Linked DNA regions of Homo sapiens: regions 2 and 3 are each linked to region 1. The links are contacts of gene promoters, found by promoter capture Hi-C in human tissues and cell types (Jung and others, 2019). All regions are on one chromosome and are shown on one strand. The core of a region is centred on a gene start or on the middle of the fragment in contact, and the rest is flanking DNA. Distances in the headings are between cores, read along the strand shown.

The links. Contacts are between HindIII fragments. The study calls those that stand out against the background at their distance.
Region 2: a fragment that was not itself captured here is called in contact with the fragment with the promoter of LRRC37B in region 1 in 1 of the 25 tissues and cell types used here (H1 embryonic stem cells).
Region 3: a fragment that was not itself captured here is called in contact with the fragment with the promoter of LRRC37B in region 1 in 1 of the 25 tissues and cell types used here (spleen).

What each region holds. Positions count from the first base shown.
Region 1 is chr17:32,004,757-32,008,769 of GRCh38, reverse strand. It overlaps LRRC37B (leucine rich repeat containing 37B), which reads right to left and starts at 1,387. Exons shown (of 15, transcript NM_001321350.2): 1 at 638-1,387. LOC124903972 reads left to right here and starts at 1,063. Exons shown (of 4, transcript XM_047437248.1): 1 at 1,063-1,394; 2 at 2,065-2,163. The coding sequence starts at 1,063. RefSeq lists silencers at 982-1,331, 1,372-1,421 and an enhancer at 1,464-2,386. The HindIII fragment of the contact is 11,687 bases long and covers 1-3,617 here.
Region 2 is chr17:31,966,433-31,969,990 of GRCh38, reverse strand. The region is part of intron 5 of SUZ12 (SUZ12 polycomb repressive complex 2 subunit); the gene reads right to left. Among named protein-coding and RNA genes, the nearest start is that of SUZ12, 31 kb to the right of the region's middle. The HindIII fragment of the contact is 3,191 bases long and covers 1-2,860 here.
Region 3 is chr17:32,047,066-32,051,121 of GRCh38, reverse strand. It overlaps LRRC37B (leucine rich repeat containing 37B), which reads right to left. Exons shown (of 15, transcript NM_001321350.2): 12 at 3,221-3,361; 13 at 1,728-2,020; 14 at 1,015-1,119. Among named protein-coding and RNA genes, the nearest start is that of VILMIR, 34 kb to the left of the region's middle. The HindIII fragment of the contact is 3,391 bases long and covers 1-3,139 here.

The DNA.
Region 1 (4,013 bases), core at 138-2,637:
TTGCACTAGCCCGTCAGCACTCGAAGAATAAAAACAAACACACAGGACCAGGTAAAGTTCCCCTACTAACCAAAATGATCCGTTTCCTTAACACAATTTAAAAACCACAGCTAGGGGTGTGAACACAGGCATGTTTTTCTGTGTGTCTGTGTGCCACAATCTGTACAAATCCTTAATTCCCTTTTAAGGAACAGATATATAATGAAAATCCGAAAGGAAACACATTAGAAATGCAAAGAGGTTTGCAAAACAAGAGGCTTCTTTCATTCCAGAAAACCACACCAAAACAAGGGGAGAAAAATGAATGCAATGGATATGTGTTTGCCAAAGTTTCAATCCTGCCCGGTGGAGACACTGCACTGGCACAAATTTTGAGGAGAAAAAAAGGGAGTTGGGGGGACGGGGAGCAAGCGAGTGCGGCCTGCAACAATGCAATCTCCATTTTGAACAATGTGCTTCTTTCCTCTTATAAATCTAGTTTTTTGCCACTTGATGTGCCCTCCCATTTCCCCTCTAAAGTTTAGGGGTCGGCGGGGTTGGCGGGAGATCGGAGCGGGATGCACAGCACATAAGTGAGCAAGGGGGGAGGGGAGAGGAGGTGGGGAATGAGTCTGCAGCAACTGCGCTGGGTGGGTACCTGGAGTGCTGCTGAAGCTGCTTTCCGTGGAGTAACTGGCGTCCTCGTCGTCATCTTCCAGCTCCTCCGGATAATCGGAGTCATCGTCGTCCTCCTCCATGTCATCCTCCTAGTTGTCCTCAGACTCCTGGGTCTCCTCGGCATCGCCGCCCCCCTCCTCTTACTCCTCCTCCTCGCTCTCGTAGTCATCATACACCACTCTGTTGACAGCCCTCCGGGCTGCGGTGGTCCGGGCTAGGTGGCTGCCCCCGCGCCCCCGCCGGGCCCGTGCGCTGGTGCCGGCGCGGGGCGGGCCGGCGGCGGTGGCTTCCTCCGGCTACTGCTGCCCACCCTGGGCGAGCTCAGCCGCGTCTTGGGCGCCACCTCAGCCTGGCGGCTGCCCACCTGCCCCGGCTACTACCGCGTATCGGCGAGGGGAGCCCCCGATGGGTCCGGACGTGGGCGGCGGCGGCGGCGGGGCCGGGGCGCAGCGCTCCGCAGCGGGAGCCGCGGGCTGCTTGGTCGGCCTGCCCCGCCGGCCCCTCTTGTTGGAGCCCAGGCGGCGGGAGAAGGGAAAGCTGACGGGGAGGGCCGGGCGCAGTGGCGGCGGTGGGGAGCGCCGGGGCCGGGTTGGGAGGCCCGAGGGGCTGGGCGGGAGGGGCCCGGCCGGCGGAAGCGAGTGGAGGGAGAAGGCTCAACCGAATTGCTGGGGCCCCACTCAAGATCGCCTTCAACCGCCACCTTGTTTCTTCCCTCTACAGGAGCGCGGTCACGTGAGGTGCGCCGCCGCCCAGCCTGGGAAGGGGGCGAGGTGGCGCGGCGGCCGCTAGGGGGAGCGCGGGAGCATTGAGTCGGGGGCGGAGAGCTCGGGGCGCCTGGACTTGGCGCAGCACGGCGCTCCGGGTGCGGGTGGCGCGGCTGAAAGAGGCCCGCAGCTCCTGACAAGCCCCGCGTCTAAGGCCTTCGGAGACCACAGTCTCCGCGGACCCCTGGCTGGAGCCCAAAGCCTGCCGGGTCTCCTTCCCGCGACTCCCCTTCCGCGGCTCGGAGAGGAAGGCAGGAGAGCCCCCAAATATCGTTCCCCTCCCGCCCTCTAGGGAAACTGAGGCTGAAAGAGGCAGCGAGAGAAAGAAAAAAAAAGTCGCGGAGGGGGGCGGCCCGAGCGACCTAAGGGACGGGGCAGCGCCAGCGACCGAGGAAAATTAGTCGGGGTGGGGTACAGGGAGACAAGCCCCCAGAATTTAGGAAACTCCGAAGCTTGGAAGTGGAGTCCTGAATTGACTCCGATGACAACTGCTCCGGATCTGTGCCAGGAGCCACACCCCGGGCTGCCACGCCTGGAGGGAGGGGGGTCCCTAAGACCTGTTGCATGGGATCCCCACTCGGAAAGCCTCAGTAAACTCCAGAATGCAACTACTGCATGTTCCAATCTCCCGCCACCTTCCCAGTGTCCCAGCTAGGAGCCTGACCACCTTAGCAAGAACTTACCTCTCCTTTGCAGTGGAAAAGAGGGAATCCTGCCTAAAACCTACTTCACGGTGTTACAGGTCTGTATTATCGGGAAATAACCTTAATTTATTTACCTGACAAATCACTAGGTTTGAGCTCAGCCCAGGGGACGAATCATGGTGACAGTTCAGGCACCCTCAAACCTTATCACAGGGACTCAACCCTGAGTGGTTGAGGTCAGTTCTTCAGATAAGAGAAAGGTTTGCCGGGCACAGTGGCTGACGCCTGTAATCCCAGCACTTTGGGAGGCCGAGGCGGGCGGATCACAAGGTCAGGAGTTCGAGACCATCCTGGCTAGCACAGTGAAACCCCATCTCTACTAAAAATACAAAAAAAATTAGCCGGGCGTAGGTGGTGCACGCCTGTAGTCCCAGCTACTCGGGAGGCTGAGGCAGGAGAATGGCGTAAAATCCGGGAGGCGGAGGTTGCAGTGAACCGAGATCGCGCCACTGCACTCCAGCCTGGGAGACAGAGCGAGACTCCGTCTCAAAAAAAAAAAAAAAAAAAAAAAAAAAAAAAGAAAAAGAAAGGTTTCGTAAACATATGTTAATATTTATTGAGATAAGTGACAACCAAAAAGTAATTTAAACAAAAATACTTGGCCGGGCGCGATAGCTCATGCCTGCAATCCCAGCCCTTTGAGAAGCCAAAGCCGGACGATTGCTTGAGGTCAAGAGTTTGAGACTAGCCTGGGCAACATAGCAGGACCTCGTCTCTAGAAAAAAATTGAAAAATTAGCCGGGCATGGTGGTGCGCACCTGTGGTCCCAGCTACGCCAGAGGGTGAGGGGGCAGGATCGCTTGAGCCTGGGAGGTGGATGTTGCACTGAGCCATGATTGCACCTCTGCACTCCAGCCTGAGTGACAGAGCAAGACCCTGTCTCAAAATTTTTAAAAAAGAAAGAAAAATACCTAATAGGAGATGGCTTATTTCAATCTAGTTAGGAAAATGGAACACATATGTGAAATGAAAATTAAAATACAAGCACTAATTGCCAAATACATGCATTCAATACAGTTTGGTTGAGCTCTAAGGGTGGCAAATGTGTGTTATGTCTTCAGGGACTAGGTAAGTAATGTAAGTCAATAAAGTAGACAAGGTGAAGACCTAGGCCAATGGAAATGCTCATATTTTGTTTGAAGAGGGTGGCCAGGTGTGGTGGCTCAGACCTGTAATCCCAGCACTTTAGGAAGCCAGGTGGGTGGATCACTTGAGCCCAGAAGTTCGAGGTTAGCCTGGCCAACATAGTGAAACCCCATCTCTACTTAAAACACAAAAATTAGCCGGGCATGGTGGCATGTGCCCATAGTCCTAGCTACTCAGGAGGCTGAGGCAGGAGAATCGCTTGAACCTGGAAGGCGGAGGTTGTGGTGAGCGGAGACCATGCCACTGCACTCCAGCCTGGGCAACAGAGCGAGACTCCTTCACCACCCCCTCCCCCCCACCAAAAAAAAGAGAAAAGTTAAACAAAATAGACCAAAAAAACCCAACTCTTCTTTGAATGGATTAGCAGGTATTTGCTGTTTTGCTCCTTTATGCTTTAATGAATTTATCTTTCTGTGGCTTCAAGAAGAAAAATGTTAAGTCAGTGAATACTGTATAGGTTGAGCATCCTTACCTAAAATGCTTTGGATCAGAAGTGTTTTGGGCATTTTTGGAATATTTGCATTCTACTTACCAGTTGATCATTTCTAATCTGAAAATCTGAAATGCTCTAATGAGCATTTCCTTTGAACAGCATGTTGACACTCAAAAACTTTTGGACCTTGGAGCATTTTGGATTTCAGATTTTCAGAATAAGGGTACTCCACCAGTATCCTTTTATCTATGATTTAATATAGCCCTTCTTTCTTCAGAATTACTGAGTGACTCATTCCTGTAATGCTGC
Region 2 (3,558 bases), core at 16-2,515, 39 kb after region 1:
GACTGCTCACTGCACTCCAGCATGAGTGACAGAGCAAGACTCTGTCTAAAAAATAATTAATAGTAAGAAAATAAGAAGAAAAAATCACATTTTAAGAATTAAAAATTTTTTTTTCCTTGTTTTGAGAGAGGGTCCCACTATGTTGCCCAGACTCTATTCAAACTCCTGGGCTCAAGCAAACCTCCCAGCTCAGCCTCCTCAGTAGATGGAAATACAGGCAAGCATCACTGCTCCTGGTACATTTTAGAGAACTTGATGTTGGTTTTCTATCCTGGTTTCTTAAAAATATTATTGAAAACAAAAAAGGTACAAATAAACCTTGGATGGAAAAGAAACACAATATATCTACTTCCAACTTCTACTAGTTTCAAAGTTAAAATAGAATAGTTATTTTCAACATAGGCGTGGTGGCTCACGCCTATAATCCTAGCACTTTGGGAGGCCGAGGTGGGTGAATCACTTGAGGCCAGGAGTTTGAGTCCAGACTGGCAAACATGGTGAAATGAAATCCTGTCTCCATTAAAAATATAAAAATTAGGGGCTGGGCTCGGTGGCTCATGCCTACTGAAATCCCAGCACTTTGGGAGGCCGAGGTGGGCAAATCACCTGAGATCGGGAGTTCAAGAGACCAACCTGACCAACGTGGAGAAACCCCATCTCTACTAAAAATACAAAAAATTAGCGGGGCATGGTGGTGCATGCCTGTAATACCAGCTACTCTGGGAGGCTGAGGCAACAGAATTGCTTGAACCCGGGAGGTAGAGGTTGTGGTGAGCCGAGATTGCGCCATTGCACTCCAGCCTGGGCAACCAGAGTGAAACTCCATCTCAGAAAAAGAAGAAAAAAAATTAGCTTGTGTGGTGGCACCCGCCTGTAATCCCAGATACTTGGGAGGTGGAGGCATGAGAATCACTTGAACCTGGAGGCAGAGGCTGCAGTGATCTGAGATCAAACTACTACACTCCAGCCTAGGTGACAGAGGAATTATTTTCTGGAAACAGAGATATCAACAGAGTTCACTATCTCTTTTACTTCAATATCAAGAAAAATAAAAACAAAGTAAATCTGAGCAATTGTTGAACTTTATATATTTTGTCATGAAGATAGGAAAAAAGCTTAATATGACTACTTTCCAAAAATTTCAGTGATGGATAAACTATGTGTTCTACACAGGTCCCTGAGAACAAAGGGCTAATGAATGTATAAAATTCAAATTATAAGTTTCTGAAGAATTAAAGTCTAGACACGTCAGAAGTACCACAGAAAACAAAATACGATGACTAGAAATAAGGACTCTAAGCAGACCATTACAAATAATTTAAGGAAAACAAAAACCGTAATGCTACCCAGGTTACTTCTATATAAAAAATAGACCAGATCTAAGGTAAAAACTAGAAGTTACATTAGCTGCTAATACAAATACGAGATTTCAAATTTCTTACATAAAAACCCTAACTAGGGCCAGTCTCAGTGGCTCACACCTGTAATCCCCGCACTTTGGGAGACTGAGGTGAGAGGATCACTTGAGACCAGGAGTTTGAGACCAGCCTGGGAAATGTAGTGAGATTCCATCTTAACAAAAAAAATTTTTTTTAATTAGCCAGGCATGGTGGGAACGCCTGTAGTTCCAGCTACTCAGGAGGCTGAGGCAGGAGGATCACTTGAGCCCAGGAGTTGATCACACCACTGCACTCCAGCCTGGGTGACACGAGCAAGACCCTGTCTAAACAAACAAACAACCCCCAAAGAGTCATTAAAAAATGGTTATATTAGAGCATTTTGACAATTGGCCAATTGGCAAGGTTGTCTTTTTGTCTTTTTTAGACAGTGTCTCACTCTGTCACTCAGGCTGGAGTACAGTGGTGTGATCTTGGCTCACTGCAGCCTCAACCTCCAAGACTCAAGCAATCCTCCCACCTCAGCCTCCTGAGTAGCTGAGACTACAGAATAGCTGGGACTACAGGCATGTGCCACTGTGCCCAGTTAATCTTTTTTTACTTCTTACAGACAGGTTCTCCCTATGTTGCCCAGGCAAGCCTCAAGCTATTCTTCCATCTCAGCCTCCCAAGGTGTTGACGTTATAGCTGTGAGCCACCACGCCCAGTCTAATATTTGGGATTTTTTGGAGACAAGGTCTCACTCTGTTGCCCAGCCTGGAGTAGAGTTGTGCAATCATAGCTCACTGTAACCTTGAATTCCTGAGCTTACGCCATCCTGCCATCTTGGACTTCCAAGTACCTAGAACTACAGGACATACCACCATACCTGGCTAATTTTTGTAGAGATGGGGTCTGTGTTGCCCAGGCTGGTCTTGAAGTCCTGGCCTCAAGTCATCTTCCCACCTCAGCCTCCCAAAATGCTGAGATTACAGACATGAGCCACCAGGCCAGGACTCATTTTCTTTTTCTTTTTTTTTAGACAGAGTCTCGCTCTGTCACCAGGCTGGAGTGCCACTGGTGACACTACAGGTGTGCACCACGACACCCAGCTAGTTTTTTTGTATTTTAGTAGAGACGGGGTTTCACCATGTTAGCCAGGATAGTCTCGATCTCCTGACCTTGTGATCCACCCGCCTCAGCCTCCCAAAGTGCTGGGATTACAGGCGTGAGCCACCGTGCCCGGCCCACCAGGACTCATTTTCAATCTTTGTTTCTTACTAAACGATACCAAGACAACCAACCTGGCATGTTTCTAATAATGGTTTTATTCCATTGCATAATAAAAAGATATGCCATATACACAGACTTATGATGGATAAGCTGATAAGTGATTTTCCCTTTTTTTTTTTTTTTGAGATGGAGTCTCGCTCTGTCGCCCAGGCTGGAGTGCAGTAACGCAATCTCAGCTCATTGCAACCTCCGACTCTCAGGTTCAAGTGATTCTTCTGCCTAAGTCTCCCAAGTAACTGGGACTACAGGCACCCACCACCACGCCTGGCTAATGTTTATATTTTTAGTAGAGATGGGGTTTCATCATATTGGCCAGCTGAACTCCTGAACTCCTGAACATCCTGAACTCCTGACCTCATGATACACCCGCCTCAGCCTCCCAAAATGTTGGGATTACAGGCGTGAGCCACTGCGCCTGGCCGTATTTTTCCATTTTTAAAACAACTCTAATTCTTTCCAGCATGCTTTGAGCTTTTACTGGAGTAATATACCATATAATTTCCTTTGAATAATATCTAAAATATTAATATATGCCATTGGTAATAGTGGTTATTTCAGTTGTTTTACTGTGTTTTTTTAAAACATGATACAGTATCATTAATTCAAAATGTTTATGCATAAAAGGTTCTACTGAGGAGATTCTTTACCTATTGAAGTTCTAAGACAATTTGTTAAAATCTTCATCATTAGCCAGGCGTGGTGGCTCACGCCCCCTTGGGAGGCCAAGGCGGGTGGATCACGAGGTCAGGAGTTCAAGACCAGCCTGGCCAGCATGGTGAGACCCTGTCTCTACTAAAAATACAAAAAATTAGCCAGGCATGGGGCACGTGCCTGTAATCCCAGCTACTCAGGAGGCTGAGGCAGGAGAATCGCTTGAACCCGGGAGGTG
Region 3 (4,056 bases), core at 195-2,694, 42 kb before region 1:
AAATAAGGGCATTGTAGATGGACAAAGGCACAGATAAGCAGCAATGGGGACGGTGTGACTGGGGGACGCTGAGGGGCTGCTGTGGCTGGAATGGAGGGCTGCCACCATAATGGAAATGGCCAATGAGGCAAATAAGGTTGGATTAGGAGCATAGCATCAAGGGTGCCAGCTTATTAAATCCCTCTTCCAGTGTGCTAGCACTGGCCTGCTGGGAAAAGTAATACATCACATAATCAAACAAAAGGCAAAAAGAGGCGAGCTCCAGGAATGGGCACTGTAAACAGGACTCGCCCCAGGGTAGCCAGATGTAGGCTTTAGATTTGTTGATGCAGGTTGAGCATCTCTAATCCGAGGGGGAATGTCTCATATGGTGTCCAAGAAATGGTGACACATCTCACAGAGGGCCTAGGCTCAGGAGGGCTGGAGTATGAGACATTCCCCCTCCCCTGTGAATTTGAAAACGTGGCCAAAATTTTTTTTTAAAAATGGCTACCCTGTAGTTCTTTAACTGGACCTATTTAGACAACACCTTACACACTGGAGAAGGATGATACTATGTGAATCTAATAAGTCTACAAGACAATACTTCTCTCTTTTGGCTGTCTTCTTCCTCTCCAGGGTGATTACAACTCCGTGAGGGTGGAGATTATATGTCTCTCATCATTTAAGCAACAAGGAAATAAATTAGTGGCAGAGTAAGGGGTGACTCAGTGAGTACATCCAATTGTTGACATAGTTTTGGGTGGGAGAAATTTTGCTATTATATCAACTTAACTTCTTAAAATAGTCTAGTGGGATTAACTTGGTTTTATTTCACAGAGACCTCCTGGAAGCGAGGATCCTTTAACAATCCTGGAATATACATTGCAGTAAAAGAACAAAGCACACCTCAGCCTTAAATGACAGAAGAAGAATGTCAAGTGGGAAAGTGACGTTGGTTTTCAGTTTGTGGATTCTGAATCCACACAAACACAGGATTGTATTCTGAAAACCTGAATTAATTATTGTCCTTACCTCTATAAGACAAAAAATTATAATCAAAATTATTAGTATTACAGTCACAGATATTGCGAAGATGAGTTTGTTCTTATAGTCATCTCCTGGAACTTCTTTCATGAGCTAAAAAAAAGAAAAAAAAAAGAAAAAAGAAAGAACAATTAAAAAAAAAGAGAGAGAGAATGGAAGCTAACTTTTCAAAACCCCAGTATGCCAGTTGAGTAGCTTACAGGTTCTTTTGTTCTTTTTATTTTTTTTGAGACAGGATCTCACTCTGTCACCCAGGCGGGAGTACAGTGGTGCGATCACAGTTCACTACTGACTCGACCTCCCTGGGCTCAGGTGATCCTCCCACCTCAGCCTCCTGAGTAGCTGGGGCTACAGGCACGTGTCACCACACGCAGCTAATTTTTGTATTTTTTGTGAAGACGGGGTTTCACTACGTTGGCCGAGCTGGTCTTAAACTCCTGACCTCAAGTGATCCACCCACCTCGGCCTCCCAAAGTGCTGGGATTACAGGCATGAGCTACCACCCCCGGCCTACAGTTCATCTTGTGCCCTAATCTATTTCACTGTCTACATGAGCAAAGTGGGAGATCACTGTCATGGCCAAAGTTACATGGCCAAGACAAGCTATGGCCTGGGAGTCCCAGGTTCTCCTATGTGGGCACTCTCCTGGCATACGCTAAATGATGGGAAATCTGGGTCTCATGTTTCTGTGTGGTCCTCACCTCACTTGACTTCTGCTCTTTCTGTTCATTCTGTTCCATGTTCTCATTAATATAATTTGTTTTTTGTTGGTCCGTATCCCATTCTACATTCAATGCCTTTGCTTCCTGCTGCTCGCTGAGAAGCTTCATCAGGAGGCCTGTTCGCAACATGAGCTTGGCACAGCTCCCTTGCACATGTGTTTCTGAACATTCCATTTTCAAGGTCCGGATAACATGAGACATGAACTTTCTCACATCCTCGTTGGGGATGAGGGACCGTAGCTGCTCGGTTAGCTGAATTTCAAGCTGATCACCTGGGGACGAGAGCAATGGGTAATTGAAGCTTTTGGGCTCAGGGGACAAGTCAATGCCCACATTGTTGTATTCCCATTTTGTCTCAGTTTGTTTAACAGTTGGTTCTAAGTTGAATGCAGTCCCAGCGGAAACTGCCTCAGGAGGATGATTGTAGTTTGTGTTTTCAGAGATGTGTCTTTGAACACATCTCTTTTGTGTCTTTTACATTAGTTGTGTCTTTTACACTAGTGTTTTCTATAAAACGTTCTGAAGGAGCAACTACTTCCAGAAGAGGGTTTTCTTGAGGACTCAGGTCTCCTAAGGATGAAAAAACCCCTTGCGAATTTATGAGGCTCTTCGCTGCAGAGAACAGCGGCCTCTTTGCGAGCATCGGTCTGTTGAGATAACTGCCCTTTCTAAACTTTCTAATCTTTTTGGCCTTCGGTGTTCTGTGGGCCACACGGGAGTGAGTTTTATAAAAGCGGTATTTTTTTCTGGAATGTGTGATTGGTTTAGCAGCCTTCATGTTTTTCACTCTAGCCATTGCCATTTCTAAAATTAAAATGGTGTAGGCTAAGTCTTTCGATCTGTCTCTGACCTGAGGTAGGGCTTTTGCAGGGCTAGAGGCAGAAGGCACGCCCATGGAGAAGGGTTTCAGCACAGAGGAGACTGCTGCCTTATGCTCTTGGGTGAATGAAGGCTTGGTGTAGATGGTGTTTCCCACTACCTTCTCAGGCCCCTGCACTATGTGAGGCTGTTCCAGCTCCCTTGGGGCTGGACCCTCAAGCCTTTTTCCTTTGGCAGCATTGTCCACAAATGCCTGGGCATCCTGTTCTTTCCTAGTGCTGTGCTTTCCCACCTTTTTGAAGTGCCTTTCCTGGATGCTCCTTGGGCCCATGAGGACTCTGTTCACTCTCTGCAGGTTTTTGCCTACACTTTGAATCTGCCAGGCTGTTTTCCTGTGGTTGCACAGTTTCTAATTTTTTTTTCAAATATTTGGTTTTTAAATTTGTTACCTAGAAGGCTGGACTGTGAGGGGCTCTTTCTATTGTTTTTCAAAATACTCAGGAGCCTATCTCCATCTTGTACATTTGAAAATAGCTGTTCAGTGAACGGTAACAATATTGATTCTGCACCTAGATTTCCCAGTGAGAGATAAGGCAAGATGTAACTTAGTGCACTGCTAACATCACTCTCGTCATTGGTGTCTAGCTGCTCACCCCCAAAGCCTGACAAGTTGATGCCACTGCTGTCTGAGGGCGCCTCCGACTCAATAGTCAGCTGAGTGCTCATGTGCTGCTTCCGGGCTTGTAACATCTTCATGAACGCTCCTTCTGGATTCCCTACAGATGCTTCTTCAGCTGTCAGAAAAGAAGAGACTGCTTTGATCATGAAATATCTTTGATCATCTTTCATACTCAGTCCATAGCTATATGCCCCAGTCACACAGAGTAAGAGTCAGCAAACATTCGAGTGCCATTCAGAGAGGAGAAACATACACCCAAACCTAAACCTATGAAATGGCAACAACGAAAGGAGGAAAAGACATGGCCACCTACTTGGAACATTCCATAGTGTGACATAGAGTAACTCTGCTTAGGATTATTCCGTTGATCCCCAGGGGCCAATTGCCCAGTGCTCAGTCAAAGCCCAAGGTGGAAGACAAGTGCTTCCCTGATGAGCTGATGAACTGGCCTCTCTGCAGACTGCTCCATACCCTGTGCTGTCCTGCCTCATATGCAGAGAGAGCACAAGGCTCCCACTCTCCTCATCCTCAGTGTGCCCGTGTTCTTGCTACCATCGCAGCTGAATGCAATCAAAGGCGGTCCTCTGAGAGGAGCAGGGTGGAGATGCTAAAGGAGCAGGGCGGGATGCCCCCTCCCATTGCTGATAGATCCTCATCTGGCATGTGCTCCACCCACCCACCCCATTCTCTGCTCCCACATATCATAGCCCCATCACAGAAGATGCGACATGGAAAAAAACACTGTGTCCACCTTAGTTCTTTTCTTAAATTTGGGCAGGGATCCAGGGTGTAGGTTAAGAGATTTTTAAT